Regions from separate parts of the Homo sapiens genome. Here region 2 is linked to region 1. The links are contacts of gene promoters, found by promoter capture Hi-C in blood cells and fetal thymus (Javierre and others, 2016). All regions are on one chromosome and are shown on one strand. Each heading gives the region's core, a stretch centred on a gene start or on the middle of the fragment in contact. The rest is flanking DNA. Distances are from core to core; before and after follow the strand shown.

What was found. Contacts are between HindIII fragments. The CHiCAGO score rates a contact against its expected background, and 5 or more counts as called.
Region 2: the fragment with the promoter of COPB2 here is called in contact with the fragment with the promoter of GFM1 in region 1 in 1 of 17 cell types (non-activated CD4 T cells); the score reaches 5.3 in non-activated CD4 T cells.

What each region holds. Positions count from the first base shown.
Region 1 is chr3:158,641,944-158,646,369 of GRCh38, reverse strand. GFM1 (G elongation factor mitochondrial 1) reads right to left here and starts at 1,843. Exons shown (of 18, transcript NM_024996.7): 1 at 1,655-1,843; 2 at 589-741; 3 at 73-205. The coding sequence starts at 1,735. The HindIII fragment of the contact is 2,960 bases long and covers 1,246-4,205 here.
Region 2 is chr3:139,387,148-139,391,878 of GRCh38, reverse strand. COPB2 (coat protein complex I subunit beta 2) reads left to right here and starts at 2,232. Exons shown (of 22, transcript NM_004766.3): 1 at 2,232-2,331. The coding sequence starts at 2,329. COPB2-DT (COPB2 divergent transcript) reads right to left here and starts at 2,076. Exons shown (of 5, transcript NR_121609.1): 1 at 1,946-2,076. It also overlaps the pseudogene LOC124906339. RefSeq lists enhancers at 1,395-1,504, 1,384-1,946, 1,715-2,014, 1,947-2,508, 2,305-2,554. The HindIII fragment of the contact is 7,530 bases long and covers 1-4,731 here.

The DNA.
Region 1 (4,426 bases), core at 594-3,093:
GGTCACAGTAAGAGAAAGAACCAAATGTGCTTTTGCCAAAGAAGCTGCAATAAAACCAAGAATCCAACTCACCAGGAGTATCTATAATGTTAATATTGACATCTTTCCACATGGTGTAAGTGGCTGCTGACTGAATAGTGATTCCTCTTTGTCTCTCTAGTTCCATGGAATCCATGACAGCACCAACTCCATCTTTACCTTTCACCTAAACACAAGCACAGCAATTCAGACTTTCTCTGTCCCTGCATTCCAAGAAGGAAAGAAATCTTAACTGAAATGGAAACAGTTGCCAGGTGCAGTGGCTCATGCCTATAATCCCAGCACTGTGGGAGACTGAGGCAGGATGATAATTTGAGCCCAAGAGTTTGAGACCAGCCTGAGCAACAAAGTGAGACCTCTTCTATAAAAAATAAAAATAAAACCAGAACACAGATACTTAACTTAAGCAACTTTCAGATAAGCCTAACTGTCAAAAGTCCGCTGTTACCATTGTTTTAATCTTTCAGGTTTATAAGCTTTATTAAATAATAGCAACAAAACAATTAAAATCTGGTTCTAATTAATCCGGAATCAACCGTGAATATATACCTCATGCATCTTTGCAATTCTGCCAGTGTAGTAAAGGACTCGTTCTGTTAATGTAGTTTTCCCAGAATCAATGTGAGCTGAGATTCCAATATTTCGTATTTTTTCATTAGGAATCACCCCTGATGAAGACCATCGGCAGGCCTTCCAATTAACCTGAAAAAAATACGAGAGCTCAATTCTATGCACCTTTTATAAGAGAGAACAACAGACAATTAAAAGGAGTATGGTGGACATTATTCCTCCAAGAAATCTCACTGGATATGAGATAGCTTGAGAAAGGCACCAGGGGAAACCTTTAAGCCTGGAACTCTTGTAATCAGAGGACAGACTTCAAAACAAGACAGTAAAGACGTATTCTTTTAAAATTAATTAATGAATAAGTTAAATTTAATTAAAATGGGAGACACTTTTTACTGCAGATTTGAAAATACACACTGGGGCAGATAAAATCACAAAGACAGCTCCAAAAAATACTTTAATAGAAAATACAAATTTTAGCTTAAATTTAACTTAATTTTTTTCCCTTTCTCCTTTATTGTAGTTCACAGATGACAAATATGTTTGAGAACTTATATGCTCTATGCAGTGATGCTAGTAGCTCCAAGACAGCCCCCAAAGATTTCCAATTCCCTCCAAACAAAAACAATTCATGAAGCTTGTTTTAACTTTACTCTGGTGGCAGGGGATGGGGATCCCTATTAGATGGAATGAAGATACAATATAAACCTTTCCCTATAGGACTGCACATCCAAAATGCACAATTATTCACGGGAAAAGAGAGGCAAAAAAAAAAAAAAAAAACCTTAGAAAAGGTGGATAAAATATCAAAGTATCTGAGTGACAGACACTTTTAGTTGATTAAACCCTAGGGATACCAGAGAGCGAAACAAACGAGCTAACGAGCTAATGTGCAGGCACCGAGGTGCTTTTCAGCACTGACGAGCGACTGCCAGTATTCGGAGCTGTCAGTCATGAGGACCCAGGGGGTGTCACGGCCTTCCATTGCCCAGAAGGGATCACAAGGTTCCGGGAATGGTCCCGATTTAGCCTCTCTATGCTCCGGTACCTGCTTCCTCTGCCAGCCTAGGGAGGCGGGGGCCCTTCCGCGCCCCAGAGCCGCGACGGCTGCAGCTCCCAGGAGTCTCATGGCAAGCGCAGAGCACGCGTCAAAGTCCCGTGGCGCCGGGTGGGTTCAGCTGCCGGTAACGCACCGGGAAGCGGTCAAAGTCACGCCGGCAGCCAATGTTGTAAGAGCACTTCCGGGGCAAAGGACGCGAGGAAAAAGAGAGTGAGGAAAAGAAAGAAGAGCAACTGGATTGGAGGCGGAGCAGTGCCTACGCTGCTCGCGCGCCGTCTGCCGACTTGGAAGAGAAAGTGCAATCGCTTTGCGGAGCTAAAGAAGTGTTTGCTCCCAGTAAGACGGCATAGGTATATGGGTGAGGGAAGGGAGTCCTTTTGTCTTCGTCTTCTTTTTTAAATATTACCTCTGTATGAAGATACAGAATTTAAACATGGTTGTTAGGCCTATAAAGCAATGTGGAGAAATGTATATAACAATTTAAGTAGAAAAGAGCAAAATTGTCTATTACAAATATTAATAGGTATATATATGACATGGCCTGAAAAAGAACGTGGACAAATTATAGTGAATGAACTATCAATTACAATTACAAATACTTTTCCTCATGTCAAAATGTTATTTGTTATTGTTCGATGTCAGACATTTCATGTCCTGTCCATGTGGAAGACTGCATCCTTGACCATTCTGCTTGGATGTGTTAAGAGGCATGTTGAACCTAACAGGTCCAAAACTGAGCTTCGGATCTTCTTCCCCAAACCTTCCACAGTCTTATCCATCTCATAAATGTAAACTTTAGTGATTCTAGCCAAAAATATTAGTCGCTTTGACACCATGCTGTGACATCTCCGGTCTAATCAGTCAGCATATCCTGTAAGCTCTACTTTCAAAAAGACATCCAGGGCCGGACGCGGTGGCTCACACCTGTAGTCCCAGCACTTTGGAAGGCCGAGGCGGGCAGATCACGAGGTCATGAGATGGAGACCATCCTGGCTAACACAGTGAAACCCCGTCTCTACTAAAAATACAAAAAAAAATTAGCCGGGCGCGGTGGCGGGCGCCTGTAGTCCCAGCTACTCGGGAGGCTGAGGCAGGAGAATGGTGTGAACCCAGGAGGCGGAGCTTGCAGTGAGCCGAGATCACGCCACTGCACTCCACCCTGGGTGACAGAGCGAGTCTCAAAAAAAAAAAAAAAAAAAGAAAATCCAGAACTTACTTCTCCCCACCTCTCAGTACTGCCGTTTCTGGAGGGAACTATTGTAATAGCCTTGTAACCGATCTCACTGCTTCTATCCTTGCTGTTGTCAGTGGGCCGGTTCAGGTGCTTGACTTCACCACACAAAAGAATTTGAAAGCAAGTACAAAGTAAGAGTAGGCAAAAAAGTTTATTGTAAACCAAAAGTACACTCTGAGAGGCAGAGTGGGCTGCTCAGAAGAGAGACAGACAGCCTTTAGTATCTCTAGGGAATTCCCTTTATGGGTGAGGCAGGAGAACAGGGTCTAGAGACAGGGAACCGAAGGCCCTGCTGACTTCCTAGAGCTGAACCAAAAGGAAAACCCCACCTCTCCATGCCCAAGTAACAAAAGGATCGGAGGCTACTCCCAATGCACTGCATTGCAGATGAAAAAATGGAAAGTACCTCTGACTGGTCCCCTCTGGCAAATAATCAGACTGGTAGCAGGCCAAGTCCTCATGTGTAACTTTGTAACTTCACTTCAGCCTCTGATTGGTCACCTCCTGCAACCAAGCAGGCTGGTTATGGGCCACTCCTTCATTTACATAGGGTGTAACCAATGGGAACGCTCTAGAGGGTATTTAAATCCCAGAAAATTCTGTAACAGGTGCTCTTGAGCTGTGGAGTGTACTTTTGTTTCAACACATCTGTGCCTTCATTGCTCCATTCTTTCATTGCTTTGCTTATGTGTTTTGTCCAATTCTTTGTTCAAACGCCAAGAACCTGTATGACTCATAGTCAAGACCCTTCACTGGTAACATGGGAGCTGTACATATATATTCATAAAATACTGGTAAGGTCAAGTATGCAAAGGTGGACCTGTGGTTGGCACAGGTACTTGGCATCTACATGTTCTAACACAGGAGTCCCCAACCTCTGGGCCAGAGACCAGTATCAGTCCATGGCCTGTTAGGAACCAGGCCACACAGTAGGAGGTAAGCAGTGGGCGAGCGAGTGAAGTTTCATCTGTATTTACACCCTCTCCTTATCACTTGTATTACCACCTGAGCTCTGCCTCCTGTCAGATTAGCAGTGGCATTAGATTCTCATGGGAGTGTGAACCCCCTTGTGAACTATCCATTCAAGGGATCTGGGTTACGCACTCCTTATGAGAATCTAATGCCTGATGACCTGAGGTGGAGCTAAGGTGTGGCCGCTAGGGCTGGGGAACAGCTGCAAATACAGATTAACATTAGCAAAGAGGTTTGACTGCACAGAGACCATAATAAATCAATTGCTTGCAGATTCATATCAAAACCCTGTCAGTGAGTGTCAAGTGACAAAAGCTGCACTGGTGGCAAGCTTTATAGTGGCAAGTGAGTTGATGTATTTCAGTTGTACAGTTGCATCTGATGGCAGGCTTTAAAGTCTTGCGTGGCCCGCCCATTATTTTATTTACCACTTCCGTCCGCGCTTCCTTCCCACACTGAGCACTTGCCTCAGTCACAGTTTTGGTAAGCCCACAACCTAACTCTAGCCAAAACGAGTAAAAAACAAATGTCACTGGAGAGCTTCTTTGAAAATG
Region 2 (4,731 bases), core at 983-3,482, about 19 Mb after region 1:
CCCACAGTCGAACGCCTAGTGAAATACACGTGTATATTTAATGTTATGTATTAGTTCCTATTTAAGAATTTTATTTCTTTAAAATTTATTTCAACCAAAATCCAACACCAAATTCTATGGGTAATATCTTAAGGCAGCACCTAGTATAGTGCTTTGTATATAGTACACATTCAGTATGTAATGGTTAAAAGAGTGAATTTACAGTCTACAATTGCAGGACTTAATTTTGGCTAATTGCAGTGGAAAACATGAGAAAAGATATAGTCCAAGTAAGAATGACACTTGAGGGTTCAGGCCCGCAACACCAGCTAGGTAGACCCTTAGGTGGCCCAGTGGTATACAAAGATTTAAGCATTCCCAGCTGAGCCCCTTGACAATAGAGATACATCATTTTATTTTGTATCACTTAGTACTGTGCCAAATCCAAAAATACTCTCTCAAGTGCAAGAGTATTCAGGAGTTAGAAATATTGAAAGTTCCACTATTCAAGCAAATTAGGTATAGTTCATATAATTTTTTCAACTCAGGATCCTCAGTCACTCCATAGAGTAAGCAAAGTATGCAATTACTAGAATTATTAGTCTCAATTTACATAAGATCACACTGCTGGCACTAAACTCCAGTTCCAGACTCTTTTTTCCACTATTGAATGCCACAGAAACATAAAAAAAAAAAAAATGGAAGGATCTTTAGAAACCATGTAGCTGGATTTTTTTTAAGATGATGAAAACTGAGGCCCATGAAGAGAGTCACATTAGCTCAAGGCTCCTACTAAAGCCAAATAATTTCGTGCAAAATCATCTCCCTCTGATTATCATTATCTACACACACAAATACATAATTTTTCTTTTTGCCTTTCTGAAAATCTGGAGGTCTGAAAAGACTTTAAGATTTCTCTCAAGTTAAAAATACACGTTTGTACGTGTAACCAGAGGGCAAGTTTTCTATGGTCCACATGTTTTCTTAAAAAAAAAAAAAAAAAGGAAATACAGGAGATGTGCAGTGCGTGTGACAGGCAAATGTTCTCGAACTTTATTGTGTAGTGTAACCCCTATGGCACAGGCCCTTAGAATTCAGCCACATTAATGAAGAGATATTTTTATGTAGTAGAAAGAGCACAAACTTTGAGGTGTTTTGTTTTGAGACAGAGTCTTGCTCTGTTGCCCAGGCTGGAGTGCAGTGGCGCGATCTCAGCTCACTGCAACCTCCACCTCCTGGGTTCTAAGCGATTCTCCTGTCAGCCTCTGGAACAGCTTGGATTACAGGCGCCCGCCACCACGCCAGGCTAATTTTGTATTTTTAATAGAGACGGGGTTTCACCATGTTGGCCAGGCTGGTCTCGAACTCCTGACCTCAGGTGATCCACCCGTTTCGGCCTCCCAAAGTGCTGGGATTACAGGCGTGAGCCACCGCGCCCGGCCCAACTTTGAGGTTTTATCTGCCACTTACTATGCAGTCTTGGCTAGAACACTTAACTTCTTTGAGCCCGAGTTTCCTCATCATTAAATGGAGATAATTCAGGTTTGATGTGAAGATTTGAGAAGAAGGTATGTCTGACACACTGCCGAAGATCGATAAATATTTGTTGAATGAATAACACAGCCAGCCGAAGCTCAACAAAAGACACATACACAAACACACCCACACGGTTGGGTAGTTGCCGTCTCCCGGGGAGCTCCAGAAGTGTAAGCTCTCAGCCCTCCCTCTGACTTCAGAAGCCTGAAGCTACTAAGCCCGCAGCCCGGTGCGTCTCTTCGCAGCCTTAATCAGTGCCCGGGCAAAGGCCTGCAGAGAATTCTCTGGGCCTCGCACCAGGCCCCAAGAACACACTGGAGACTCGTTTCGCCTTCTCCCTCGCCGTTTCCCCCCTCCAGGGCCAGAGTCCGAGGAAGCCCGATAGCGGTTCTCGGCCTCCGAAACACAACTACAACACTGGGGAGCTTGCCCTGCAGTTAGCGTCCAGCGGGGATTAGGCACTTCGTTTTCCTCATCGTTTCAATCTCTATCTTCTGGTCGGGGTCCAAGCTCAGCGGCACCACGTCACGGCCCTTAGTGGTCTAGGCCACACCCCTCCTTCCCGACAGCCTCAAGTCCACTACCAGCGGTCTGGAAGGCCACGTTGCCTAGGAAACTGGGGCGGGGCTTGGGAAACGACGGCCCTGCGCGCAGTTTGCGCAGGCGCTCCGGCCCTGGCCTCTGACTATCGCGAGAATCGGCTCCCGGAAGTTCCACGTCAGTCAGTCTGACGGTCAGTGGATCGGTGGGTTTATCTCAAGGCCTGAGTAGCCGGTAACAAACGAGGGTTCCCGGGATTGGACCGACGCAGCCATGGTAGGTCCAGATCCCGTAGAAGGGAGCGGGGTCCCATAGGTTACGGCCGATTCCTGGAGCTTCTGGACTGAGGGCCGCGGTAAGCAGTGGTCTGGGCTCCCGCTGCGGCCGCCGCCTCAGGCCTTGCGGGGTCTTGGTCGTTTGATTCCAGGAAGGGAGAAGGCGGTGGGGCCTAGGGGACCGGGGTGATTTGGGGAGGCAAAGCCTGCTAGTGAGGGGTTTTGTCTCCCCTGGCGCTTGTGGCGCTTGCCAGAGCTCCTGCAGTCTGCAGCGGGATCGGTGGTGTAGGGAAACACAGAAGCCGAATGTGTTGAACTCCGTAGGAGGCTTTGGTAAAACTAAAGTTTGCCTTTAAAACGGTGGTAGTTAATCTACACTCCTGTTGGGCTTATTCTGGGGATAGTGTGTGCTGGCTACAAACTATAAACAAGCAAAGAAGCCAAAAACAAATGTATATGGAGTCAAAAATGGAATTTCAAATGCTTTGATATCTCAGCTGTTAGGTTTCTAAGGGGAGAAGAAGGGTTGGGAGGAAGGGGGTGCTGTTTATAACACTGGCTGGTGTGCTTTTATGCATTTGCAAATCCAGTGGCTGGTAAGAATAGTAATTGTTAGAGCACTTTGTTATTATCACCGTAACCCTAAAAAACGCCCTAGACTAGTTTGCACAAGAGTGTTATAATAATAAGGAAAGAAAACGATAGTATAAGAATATCTTCCGTCTCTATTGAAAATGCAAAAAAAAAAAAAAGAAATTAGCCGGGCGTGGTGGCGGGCCCCTGTAGTCCCAGCTACTCAGGAGGCTGAGGCAGGAGAATCGCTTGAACCCGGGAGGCAGAGGCTGCAGTGAGCCGAGGTCGCACCACTGCACTCCAGCCTGGGACAGAGCAAGACTCCGTCTCAAAAAAAAAAAAAAAAAAACTTGTTATGAAGCACAGAATCAAACATTTTGGAGCTTGAAGACGCTAGGGATTAAGTCCCTCATCTTAAGTTAAAAAATTTTTTTAAATTATGTTTCTACAAGGTTAATTGTGGCAAAGTTGGAACTAGGAAAAAGTTAGGAATACTCCCAGGGAAAATGCACAGAGAAACAAACATTTTTGCATAAAATTCAGTGCATTCATTCACAGACACCCCCCCCCACAATCCATGGACCTTCTTTTTTTTTTTAATTTGTTTTATAAAAAATATGGAACGCTTCACGGATTTGCGTGTCATACTTGCGCAGGGGCCACGCTAATCTCCTCTCTATGTGCTGCCGAAGCTAGCACTATCCGTGGACTTTCTTGGGCACCCAGGTTACAGTCCCTGAACAAGACCTCAAGCCTCTTAATTAGAGCACTTCGTATTACTAACTACCTGATGTAGTTTGGGTCTGCTGTGGTTGCAGTAATGGACGTTTTTGGAAAAGGCTCTTGGATCTGCCTAATTTCATTTTCTTTTGCCGTCTTTACATTTACCAGTGTATTTCTATAATGAAATATTGCCTTCATTCTTTATATATTTTAAATCCTTTGTGGAAAATACAAAACGTGAATTCATTCATTTGTACATTTACCATAGAATATTTAGTGTCTGCCATGCACTTTGCTAAACATGGCTGCCTAATTCTCACAGCAGCTGGGAGATAGAGTTATATGTTTGTGAAGTGGTTACTGTAGGTCAGGCACTGCTCTAACTGGCTAACTCTGAATTTAATTCTTACAGCACTAAGAGGTAGATAATAATAATATTCCTGTTTTACATAAGTCAAACTTGAAAGAGGTTAAGTAAATTTGCCCACTATTGCACATCTGAAATGAGTGGTGGAACTGAAATTTAAATCCATCATGGCTTTCTAGTCTTGTGTTATGGTATCTGTTCTTAAACCCCCATACTCAAATATATAAGGTGATCTGGAGATAAAGACATGTATAAGCAATGACCCTGGCTTTAAGGAGGATCTACTCTAGAAAGCAAGAAAAGATGTGTACACAAGTGTACCATGAACAGTTAAAATGAAATCCTATAGGATTCCCTAGGAAAGAATGCTTCAGGCTAGGGTAACTAGAAAGGTCTTACTGGTGGCAGTGGCATTTAAGCTGAGTCCTAAATGCATCCAGCTTTTGGAAGGTGGAGGGATATATTTAAAGTTGAGGATACAGTGTGAGCATCCTAATCATCTTTGTCCCAAAGTACCTAGTACATTGTCTTATTCAAAATAGTCACTTAACTGTTGGGAGAAATATTATCACAAGAACCCTTGCCTGTTCGTTCTTTCTTTCTTTTCTTTCTTTTCTTTTTCTTTTCTTTCCTTCCTTACTTCCTTCTTTCCTTCTTTCTTTCTTTCTTTCTTTCTTGACAGAATCTCACTCTGTCGCCCAGGCTGGAGTGCAGTGGTGCAATCGTGGCTCACTGCAA